Linked DNA regions of Homo sapiens: region 1 is linked to region 2. The links are contacts of gene promoters, found by promoter capture Hi-C in human tissues and cell types (Jung and others, 2019). All regions are on one chromosome and are shown on one strand. Each heading gives the region's core, a stretch centred on a gene start or on the middle of the fragment in contact. The rest is flanking DNA. Distances are from core to core; before and after follow the strand shown. Region 1 holds the start of SLC35A3 (solute carrier family 35 member A3). Region 2 overlaps CDC14A (cell division cycle 14A).

Region 1 (4,505 bases), core at 542-3,041, 490 kb after region 2:
AGGCCTTCCTTGTTTCTTCTTTGTAGGAAGAAATGATAAAAGCAAACACCAAGGCTGACAGGCATATAGCATGTTCAGAAACTGGACGTCTAATTAACGACTAGTTTGGCTAAAAAATAGGATATGTGGAAAAAAGTAATACTTGTTTAATAAAAGGAAAAAAGAAAGAATCATATTGGGGGCCGGGTGCGGTGGCTCACGCCTGTAATCCCAGCACTTTGAGAGGCCGAGGTGGGTGGATCACGAGGTCAGGAGATCGAGACCATCCTGGCTAACATGGTGAAACCCCGTCTCTATTAAAAATACAAAAAAATTAGCCGGGCGTGGCGGCGGGCGCCTGTAGTCCCAGCTACTCAGGAGGCTGAGGCAGGAGAACGGCATGAACCCGGGAGGCGGAGCTTGCAGTGAGCTGAGATTGCGCCACTGCACTCCAGCCTGGGCGACAGAGCGAGACTCCGTCTAAAAAAAAAAAAAAAGAATCATATTGATTTTACTGGAGCCACCGTCAGACTCAAATTCTGAAGGAAAAATCTGAAGCCTCCCTAAATAATATAAAATTTATTAAATGCCTCCCTAAATAATTTACATTTTATTCTGAAGCCGATCGAGAGTCACTGCGTATTTCTGAGGAAGGAATAACCAAAAAAAGAAAGTCATAAGATCTTTGGCTTTAAAAGTAATATGGAGGCAAGTGACTGGAAGGGTGCCAGGCTGAGGACAAGTCCAGTTTGGAAGTTATTGCTATAGTGCAAGTAAGAAGAGGAAAGACGAGCATATTTAGCAGACAGGTAGTGGGAATGAAAAAGGGGAGAACTAAATTTGAGATGCTGAAGAGATAGAATCAACAGTTGGGAGGAAAGTTAGCCTCAGAAATATAAGTTTACAAGTCATTCCCTTGAAACACCCTGAGTTTACCAGTGAAAGTGAATAAGAACACCAAGTAAGAAACTGCACCAAATTTCATCTTTAACTACTAAAGTCGAATGTTGATTTCAAAAACGAAAAGACTTAATTTTCAAATACTGCATTTAAGAGAACATAATAAAAGATCGTCTTTTACTATAAAGCAATGCACCCACACACCTGTTCTGATGAGAATCTCACCCCACTTCAAACAGTCCTTGTGTTCTTACTAGCCTTACCAAGGGCAGCCTTTCCATTTCTTTAAGTTCCTGCGGCTTCTTGAGCTCCAGGTGCTGGTCGGGTGCATCTGTGCCTACCACAGGGCTCAACACCGAGCGAGAGCTCATGGGATGTTCACTGAAGGAATGACGGGCCCCAGCCGGGCCCACCCGTCACTAGCTCCGCACGCACCAGGCGCTGAGGCACACACTGCCGTCTTCATTCGCTTGACACACCCCTCTCCTCGGGCCTTTTTTCCTCCTCCACCCAGTACATTCCGCACGTCGTCCGTCGGAGTTACAACGTGTCACCTCATCTGCTCCCACCCCTACTTAGCTAGCACTGTATTTCAGGTCTTCGATACCGTCCCCTTCACCCCTACAGACTTCACATCAGCCCCCTCGCATGCCTCCTCTTCCTCCTCCTCCAGGAGCTTCCCGGGCCGCCCCGCAGCCGCTAGCCTCCTGGTTCCCGCCCCTCCCCAGGTGCGCTGAGGACTCACCTCCCGCGCAGCTCGACCGGCTGAGCCCACCACCGGGGGCCGCGGTTCAGCTCCGCCGGGCGCCCCAGGCTGCCGAGTCCGCTGGGTCCTACGCGACCGCTGACCCGCAGCGCCGCCGGCTCCCGTCGCCGTAGCCACCGCCAGCTCGGTGCAGCCCAGGCGTTTCCGGGTTCCCGCGGTCCCGTCCCCCAAATGCTCCGGCTTCCGCCTCGGCTCTGGCAAATGCCGTTCCCGGCTCGGCTCTGGCAGCCCCAGCTCGGCACTTGGCAGCTCTGTCCCTAAGGCGACGCACCTGGGCTGCTCTGCTGGCAGCCCCTGGTTCCTGCTTCACCGTCGCGTGGAGGCCTGGGGCACTGCTTTCTGCTACACCTCTCCTAGGAGCGCGAAACAGATGGAGTGACACTCGTCGAGGGCCTCTGCGGGACTGTCTGTTTGCAGAGGGTGCCAAGGTGTCCACTGCGTAAGGAAGGGCAAAGTCCTTTGGGGCAAAGAACCCTGAGAGGAACGGGGAGATGGATTTTGAAAGCAAACGAACCCTCTCCTAAAAGTGACTGTCACTGACCTGAAAACAACCAGATTAGCTATGGCAAAGGCTGCCAACCAACCAGTGGTCTGCAAGAAGGCTTGTTCTTCCACTTCACCCACCCTGACTGAGATCTTGAGACTGAAGGAAACCCAAAGCCGTACCACCAATGGGCCTAGTGTCATCAACCGGGAGAGGAAAAAGAAAACTGGGCCCAGAGGATTGCAGAGTTATGAGGGACCAACCCCTTCCTGGCTGCATGGATCACAGCATTACCTTTTAAAAGTGTTCCAGTAGCTGTGTTGGAAACCCTCTAACCACGGCAGCCCATTCAGGTGATGAACAGGCTGAAATCAGTACTTCAGGTTCAGCTGGATTATCAAATAAGCGAATAGGATTATCTCTTTTTGTTAACTCAGGGCTGCTATAAATTAAGCCTATGTCTCTTTATATTGCAAATGATTAAAACCATGTCCAAGAGAGACATACTTAGAAAAAAAGTGATATTGAAGAAAAATAAGTAACTGTATTAGAGTAGAATAACTGGTTTTAAAATTTTCTGCAATACAGTCTTGAGAAAATTCCTGGATGGTAAAATACATATTAGATCTTAATACATGCCCAGTTTTTTTTGAAACCAAAATGTGCCTGTTAGATGATGATAACAGCATGCCTCGTTTTATTGTGATTTGCTTTATTGCTCTTCACAGACATTGCTTTTGTTTTTTTGTTTTTTTTTTTTACAAATTGAAGGTTTGTGGCAACCTTGCCTCAAGCACATCTATTGGTGCCATTTTTCCAACAGCATGTGCTCACTTTGTGTCTCTGTGTCACATAATATTCAATAATTTTTGCAATATTTAAATTTGTTCATCATTATTATATCTGGTATAGTGCTTTGTGATCAATGATCTTTGATGTTACTATGGTAATTGTTTTGGGGTGCTGATATGGTTTGGCTGTGTCCCCACCCAAATCTCAACTTGAACTGTATCTCCCAGAATTCCCACGTGTTGAGGGAGAGACCTAGGGGGAGATAATTGAATCATGGGGGCCAGTCTTTCCTGTGCTATTCTCATGATAGTGAATAAGTCTCATGAAATCCGATGGGTTTATCTGGGGTTTCTGATTTTGCTTCTTCCTCATTTTTCTCTTGCTGCAGCCATGTAAGCAAGTACCTTTCACCTCCCGCCATGATTCTGAGGCCTCCCCCGCCATGTGGAACTGTAGGTCCAATTAAACTTCTTTTTCTTCCCAGTCTCGGGTATGTCTTTATCAGCACCATGAAAATGGACTAATACAGGTGCCATGTACTGCACTCATATAGAAAGGCAAACTTAATTAATAAATGTTATGTGTGTTCTGACTACTCCACCAACTGCCCATTTCCCCACACTTCTCCCCCTTGGGCCTCCCTATTTCCCAATAAACAGCAATATTGAAATTAGGCCAATTATTAACCCTACAATGGCTTTGAAGGAAATCAAAATATTTTACCCCAAAATATACTACTTTGACATATTTTGAGATGACTGTTTAGAGGGCCTGCAATCAGAAGTAGCCTTTGCAGGCCAGATGTGGTGGCTCACGCTTGTAATCCCAAGACTTTGGGAGGCTGAGGCCAGCGGATTGCTTGAGCCCAGGAGATCGCGACCAGCCTGAGCAACATATTGAGATCCCATCACTACAAAAAATAAAAATTTAAACATGTACCAGTCATAATGGTACATGCCTTTAGTCCTAGCTACTCATGAGGGAGGCTGAGGTGGGACGATCACTTGATCCCAGGAGTTCAAGGCCACATTAAGCCATGATCATGCTACTGTACTCCAGCCTGGCTGATAGAGCAAGACCCTGTCTCAAAAAAAAAAAAAAAAAAAAAGTAGCCCAGTAGCCCTGCAAAACTGTCTCTTGTAGGGCAGATTTGCATCTGTGGAGAATCTGCATTAATGTAGCCAGGCTTTCTCTGAGGCCCTTCCTTGTCCAGATCTAGGAAAGATTTACTGAGATTCTGACACTTTTAAAGGTCTGAAAGAAACTTCCACCATCTATTCTCTCTGAGGGCTGCTACCCACCTTTGTTAGTCAGGCCTCTGCTTCTGTCCCTCCCGTAACTTGTTTTGCCACTATAACCTGATTTACCACCATAATCTATTTTTGGCCATGCTTGGAGCTCTCATTCTTTGTAAAGATGGTATACCCTTCTGTACTACATGGGGGATAAGAGTAATCACCCTGTGATTTCTCCTCATGTACACTAATAAATTTCTATGCCTTTTTTCTTTTCTTTCTTTTTTTTTTATTTATTTTTTTTTTAGTTAGGGTCTCTCTCTAGAAGGAGTGCAGTCGCATGATCATG
Region 2 (4,803 bases), core at 1,924-4,423:
TGTCAAAATAATTAATAAGCCTATAGTAGATAAGTATGCTGTGAAAAGCAATACAGCTGTAATTAAACCAAAGGTGTAATCCTTATAAAAGAATCCTACGTGTGTGTGCAAGTGGAAGAAAATGAAATAACAATCTCAAAAAGATATTACCACATGTAAATGTGACTATCCTATACAAGAACTGACTTCAATGTTAAAGGTTCTGATTTAAAATAAAAACATCTACAATACAGACTGGGTACGGTGGCTCACACCTGTAATCCCCGCACTTTGGGAGGCTGAGGCAGGTGGATGACCTGAGGTCAGGAGTTCAAGACCAGCCTGGCCAACATTCTCCTGAGGTTAGGAGTTCAAGACCAGTTCTGGCCAGCAGAACCCCATCTCTACTAAAAATATAAAAAATTAGCCAGGAGTGGTGGTGGGCACCTGTAATTCCAGATACTTGGGAGGCTGAGGCAGGAGAATTGATTGAACCTGGGAGGCAGAGGCTGCAGTGAGCTGAGATCGCACCATTGCACTCCAGCCTGGGTGACAGAGCGAGACTCTTTGTCTCAAAAAAAAAAAAAAAGAAAAGAAAAGAAAAGAAATTTGCAATATAAAATAAATACATATATTTTTTAAAAGGTAAACATTCACAGGTCAAGGATATAGAGAAAATATCTGTAATAAGAATGTTTAACACCAGAGAGTTTTCTTTGCACAAGGTCTCTCAGGTGAGAAATACTATCAAGAAACACACTGAGTTTTAATGAAAGCTTTGCAGTTCTTCTCCTTTGAATGTGTCAATCCAAGATACGGATGGCTAATCCACAGATAAACTCTACGACGTAGTAATAATAAAACTACTTGAACTAAGAAATAAGGCCAAATTAATCTCAGGAAAAAATACAATTTTTATGGCACAAAACTAAAGTTTGAAAGAGAAGATAGGATTATCTCCTGCTAAACGTTGATATAAACGTTCCCATTAGCTCTCAAGTTCTATTGCTGTTTAAAATACGTGACATGTGGGCTTTTTCTTGGACCTGGGCAATACTGAACAAAATGCAATGGAAAAGCAAACAGGGTGCAAATGAATCACATGGGGACAAGCCAACACACTGGCACCCCACTGTGGCCTGAAAGCAGCACCCACAAATGAGCCAGCAAGTGACACCTTCCTAACAGACTCCACGCCAGAGACAAGATATCCCACAAAGCCAGGGCCCATCCTGCTAGCTAATGGGGAGGGTGGGGAGGGAGAGCTCTGCCCACCCAGGAGGAGGGAGCCTGGCATGGGGAGCCCTGCTCCAAACCCAGGCCACGTGCTGCTCATTTCCATCTCTCTGGGTCTCTGGGAAACCGCAGCTTCCCATTTTTGCTCACATGTTCACAAAGTACCTCCACCTACTCAAATCTTAAACATAGAAACAAGGGCCTACAAAACGGCATTTTAATTTCTGTCAGAACCAAAGCCATACTCGTCTGAATAAGTCAGTTACAGCAGCACTAGGCACATGAAAAGAACAGCACCCTCCCCAACACCTACTAGATGATTAGCATAAAATGAGAGGGAAACCGGGTCTAGACCCAAAACCATAAGCACAGCACCACCCAGCGACACTAGGAGGAGCTGCACATGAGGAACTCGAGGCTCCAGCCCAGGGCGGCCCTAGTGATTTCTCCTCGCTGAAATCAAAGACCCAGTAAAATATCTGGAATATTTCCAGTATTATCCATACCGAAAGATCTGGAATGGAGTGGATTTTAAGCCTCCTCGAAGTCAAACAAGCTTAGAGCAAATGGCATGTCATATTTTCTGAGTAGCTGACATGGGGTTGCCAGATAAAATACAGAATGCATGTTCCCTGCAATATTTGGGACATATTTATACTTTTTGTTTTAAAAGTATTCATTGTTTATCTAACTTTCAAATTTAATTAGGCAGCCTGTATTTTTATTTGCTAAATCTGGCAATCCTAAACCTTCTATAGTCTGAACAATTCCTGCCCCAAAGTATCCACCCCCAGAGATCAGAGATTTTTGCAAAACAAACTCTTTAAGTTTATTCCATGAGGCAGCATCACATCAGCAGCATTGTAAGCTAGCGGATTGCCCCTAGCAACAGGCATGGAAGACGCTCTGCTCCATGAAGCCAAAGACTAGGAGGGGAGGGAAAAGCAGAGACTGGAATGGGGGTCCAGATAACTGGGTCATAAAACAGAACCACGACAGTGCAAGAGGATGGAGAAGAGATGGGCAATTCTGAAAAAAAACAAAGGAGAGAGGAAAACTAACAACCCTTGTCTCTTGAGAATTTTACCTGTTTAAAGGTGTTCCTGCAGCCTAAAGACACTGCTACTGTGTTTCCCCTCATTGTGGCACGTGGGCCTGGAAAGGTAAGGTCTGAAAAACTGGCATATCAAGAAAGCCACACCACCACCAATTGTCCACACCCAAGCAATCGTTTCTTTAAGAAGGGGTTATTAAAATGAGTTTGTGTCCCAGTTGTCTGAAATTTAAAACCTCATTGTTTTTCTAAGACACTAAACAGGTTTTGTTTTATGTTATTTGCTCTTCCTTGGCCCGCCCCTTCGATAAGCACAGCCACCACCACCGAGGCCTTGCACACACCTTTGCAGTGAACGGCGATGGCCCCTTCGGTGTTCTCACAGATGTTCAGGAACCTTCGCACGATGTTGTCACTGGGTGTGCTGCCATCTATGAAGAAGAGGTCATAGTGCTCGAAGCCAGCGTCTGTGAAGCGCTTTGCCTCATAAATCTTTTTGTTTAGCCTCACAACTGCAGTCACATTATGCTTTTTGAAATAAGGAAAGTAGGCTTCAGGGGCGTGAAGAGGATAACCTAAAGGAACAAAGGAGCAGTAAGCAAAAGGCATGCATTTCATCTTCCACAACCCAGAAATACAAAACTCTCAACAATGAAGTGTATAAATCTCAACAAAGCTTGGGAGGAAAGTGTGTTGTGTGAGAGAAGAGGTCACAGCAAGCTCCTACAAGCATCAATCTGCATAACTGTAAGCACCACAGGAGGTTAAAAAGAAAACTTCTGTAAGTACTGAAAATACATCATTAAAGTTCAAAATCTCAACCTCTAGATTCGAATCCTGGGAGCATACTCTTCCCACTCCCAAGACAAAAGCATTCTTGAAGTAATCAAATGTGCATAACAGACCTAGAATGGTGACTTTATTCTCTCTTGAGCTTTATTCTCTACTTGACAAACAGTTTTCAACTACAGCTGAAGCTTTTTTGCCATATGTATAGTTTTAATTTGTAGTACAATGCTCCCCAGAAGCAATTATTATTAAGCACCTACTATGTACAAGTCACAATTGCGTATCATTTCAAATTCTCAAAACCATCTCTTAAGTATGGCTAATTCCATTTAACAGATTAAGAAACTAAAAGAGGGGGTGTTGGGAGGATATTGGTCAAAGAAAACAAAATTTCAGTTAGAAAGGAGTATGTCCCAGAGATCTATTGTACAACATAGTGACTATAATAACAATGTATTATATACTTTAAAGTCATTTAGAAAGTAAAATTTAAGTCTTCTCACCACAAAAAATGATAAATATGTGAATACTTAAGTAAGACTTGACTTAACCATTCTACGATGTATACATATTTCAAAAGTTGTTGTACACCATAAATATATAATTTTTATCAATTAAAATATAAATTTTTTTAGTTAAAAATAAACAATAACTTTTGTGGACACTTCCTTTTTTTGAGGGAGGAAGATGCTCCACCTTTAAATCCCCTTTTATTTTTGAGTGGCTCCACCATCATGTGAGTATTCCTGGGAGCTACACAGTCAGCTGGGTTACAGACCTAGCCTTAGCTAATCAGCCAAGGCAACCACTGGGGGCTTTGGCCTTTGCAGGCCTTGCAATGGCAGCTCCAAAAGTTCAGGGGACTAAGTTCCCAGCACACTGATGGCCACATCTGTAACCCATTCAGAATTCACTGAACCCTAACATACCAGCTGAGTGCAATTATCTCAGTTGGAACCCATTCATGATGGGAGGTTCCAGGGGTGGCGGCAGCCAGCAAAGTGAACCAGACTGTTTCCACGCTGTGTGCTTGGCTGTATTTCTTGCTGCCTTGGATCCCTGTTATGCTAGTCAGCTCTCAGCTCCAAGCCGACTCTTATGCTCTGTGACACTGGGGCTGGAGTCCATATACTACGCCCTACATTTCCCAGACTACCTTTCTATCTGGCTTCCTATTGGTTGTAAAAATGGGAGGCACTAAACCTCAACCTGAGGAGGAGGAAGGGAATTCTTCCTGTCCTCCTGGCAGCATCACTTCAGCAGCAGAAAACAGGAGCAGGTTCTGCTAACTCCACTTTTGTCCCTTTTGTCCCCCCAGCCTTAAAGGTACTAGCTGTTTTCTCCAACATATTCTGGTTTCTTCAGTGTTGCCTTTTTACTTTTTAGTCTTCTTTGAAATAAACTCCTTGTATTAAATGCTTTATGTTTGAAATGCCTAGTGTGGTTCCCATTTTCCCACTTGGGTCCTGTTCATCTTCTAAGCCTAGTTCTCCAGCCTTTTCTTAAAGTCTATGAGCTACCCAACATATTCCAAAAACTGCCTTTTACCAGAGTTGGACAGCCATAACTGGTACACTTGGCCAGGTCACACAAAGGATGAAGACAGAATTGGAAGGCAGGACCAATTAATCCACAGCTCAGATATGTGATTTTCACAGGCTATGTTGCTTTTGAGCAAACAGGTAAAACAGAGCTTATTTAAAATCTTCTGTGTAGAAACAATAACCTACACAAACATGGAGAAA

The links. The method cuts DNA at HindIII sites, captures the fragments that hold promoters and counts their contacts. A contact is called where the count stands out against the background at its distance.
Region 1: the fragment with the promoter of SLC35A3 here is called in contact with a fragment that was not itself captured in region 2 in 1 of the 25 tissues and cell types used here (mesendoderm cells).

What each region holds. Positions count from the first base shown.
Region 1 is chr1:99,967,282-99,971,786 of GRCh38, reverse strand. It overlaps SLC35A3 (solute carrier family 35 member A3), which reads right to left and starts at 1,791. Exons shown (of 8, transcript NM_012243.3): 1 at 1,625-1,791. The region is part of intron 1 of LOC124904230 (a long non-coding RNA gene); the gene reads left to right. RefSeq lists enhancers at 1,342-1,431, 2,152-2,201, 2,262-2,311 and a silencer at 1,552-1,751. The HindIII fragment of the contact is 9,355 bases long and covers 1-4,505 here.
Region 2 is chr1:100,460,692-100,465,494 of GRCh38, reverse strand. CDC14A (cell division cycle 14A) reads right to left here. Exons shown (of 16, transcript NM_003672.4): 9 at 2,614-2,844. Among named protein-coding and RNA genes, the nearest start is that of GPR88, 75 kb to the left of the region's middle. RefSeq lists enhancers at 1,358-1,447, 2,726-3,347. The HindIII fragment of the contact is 3,820 bases long and covers 1,264-4,803 here.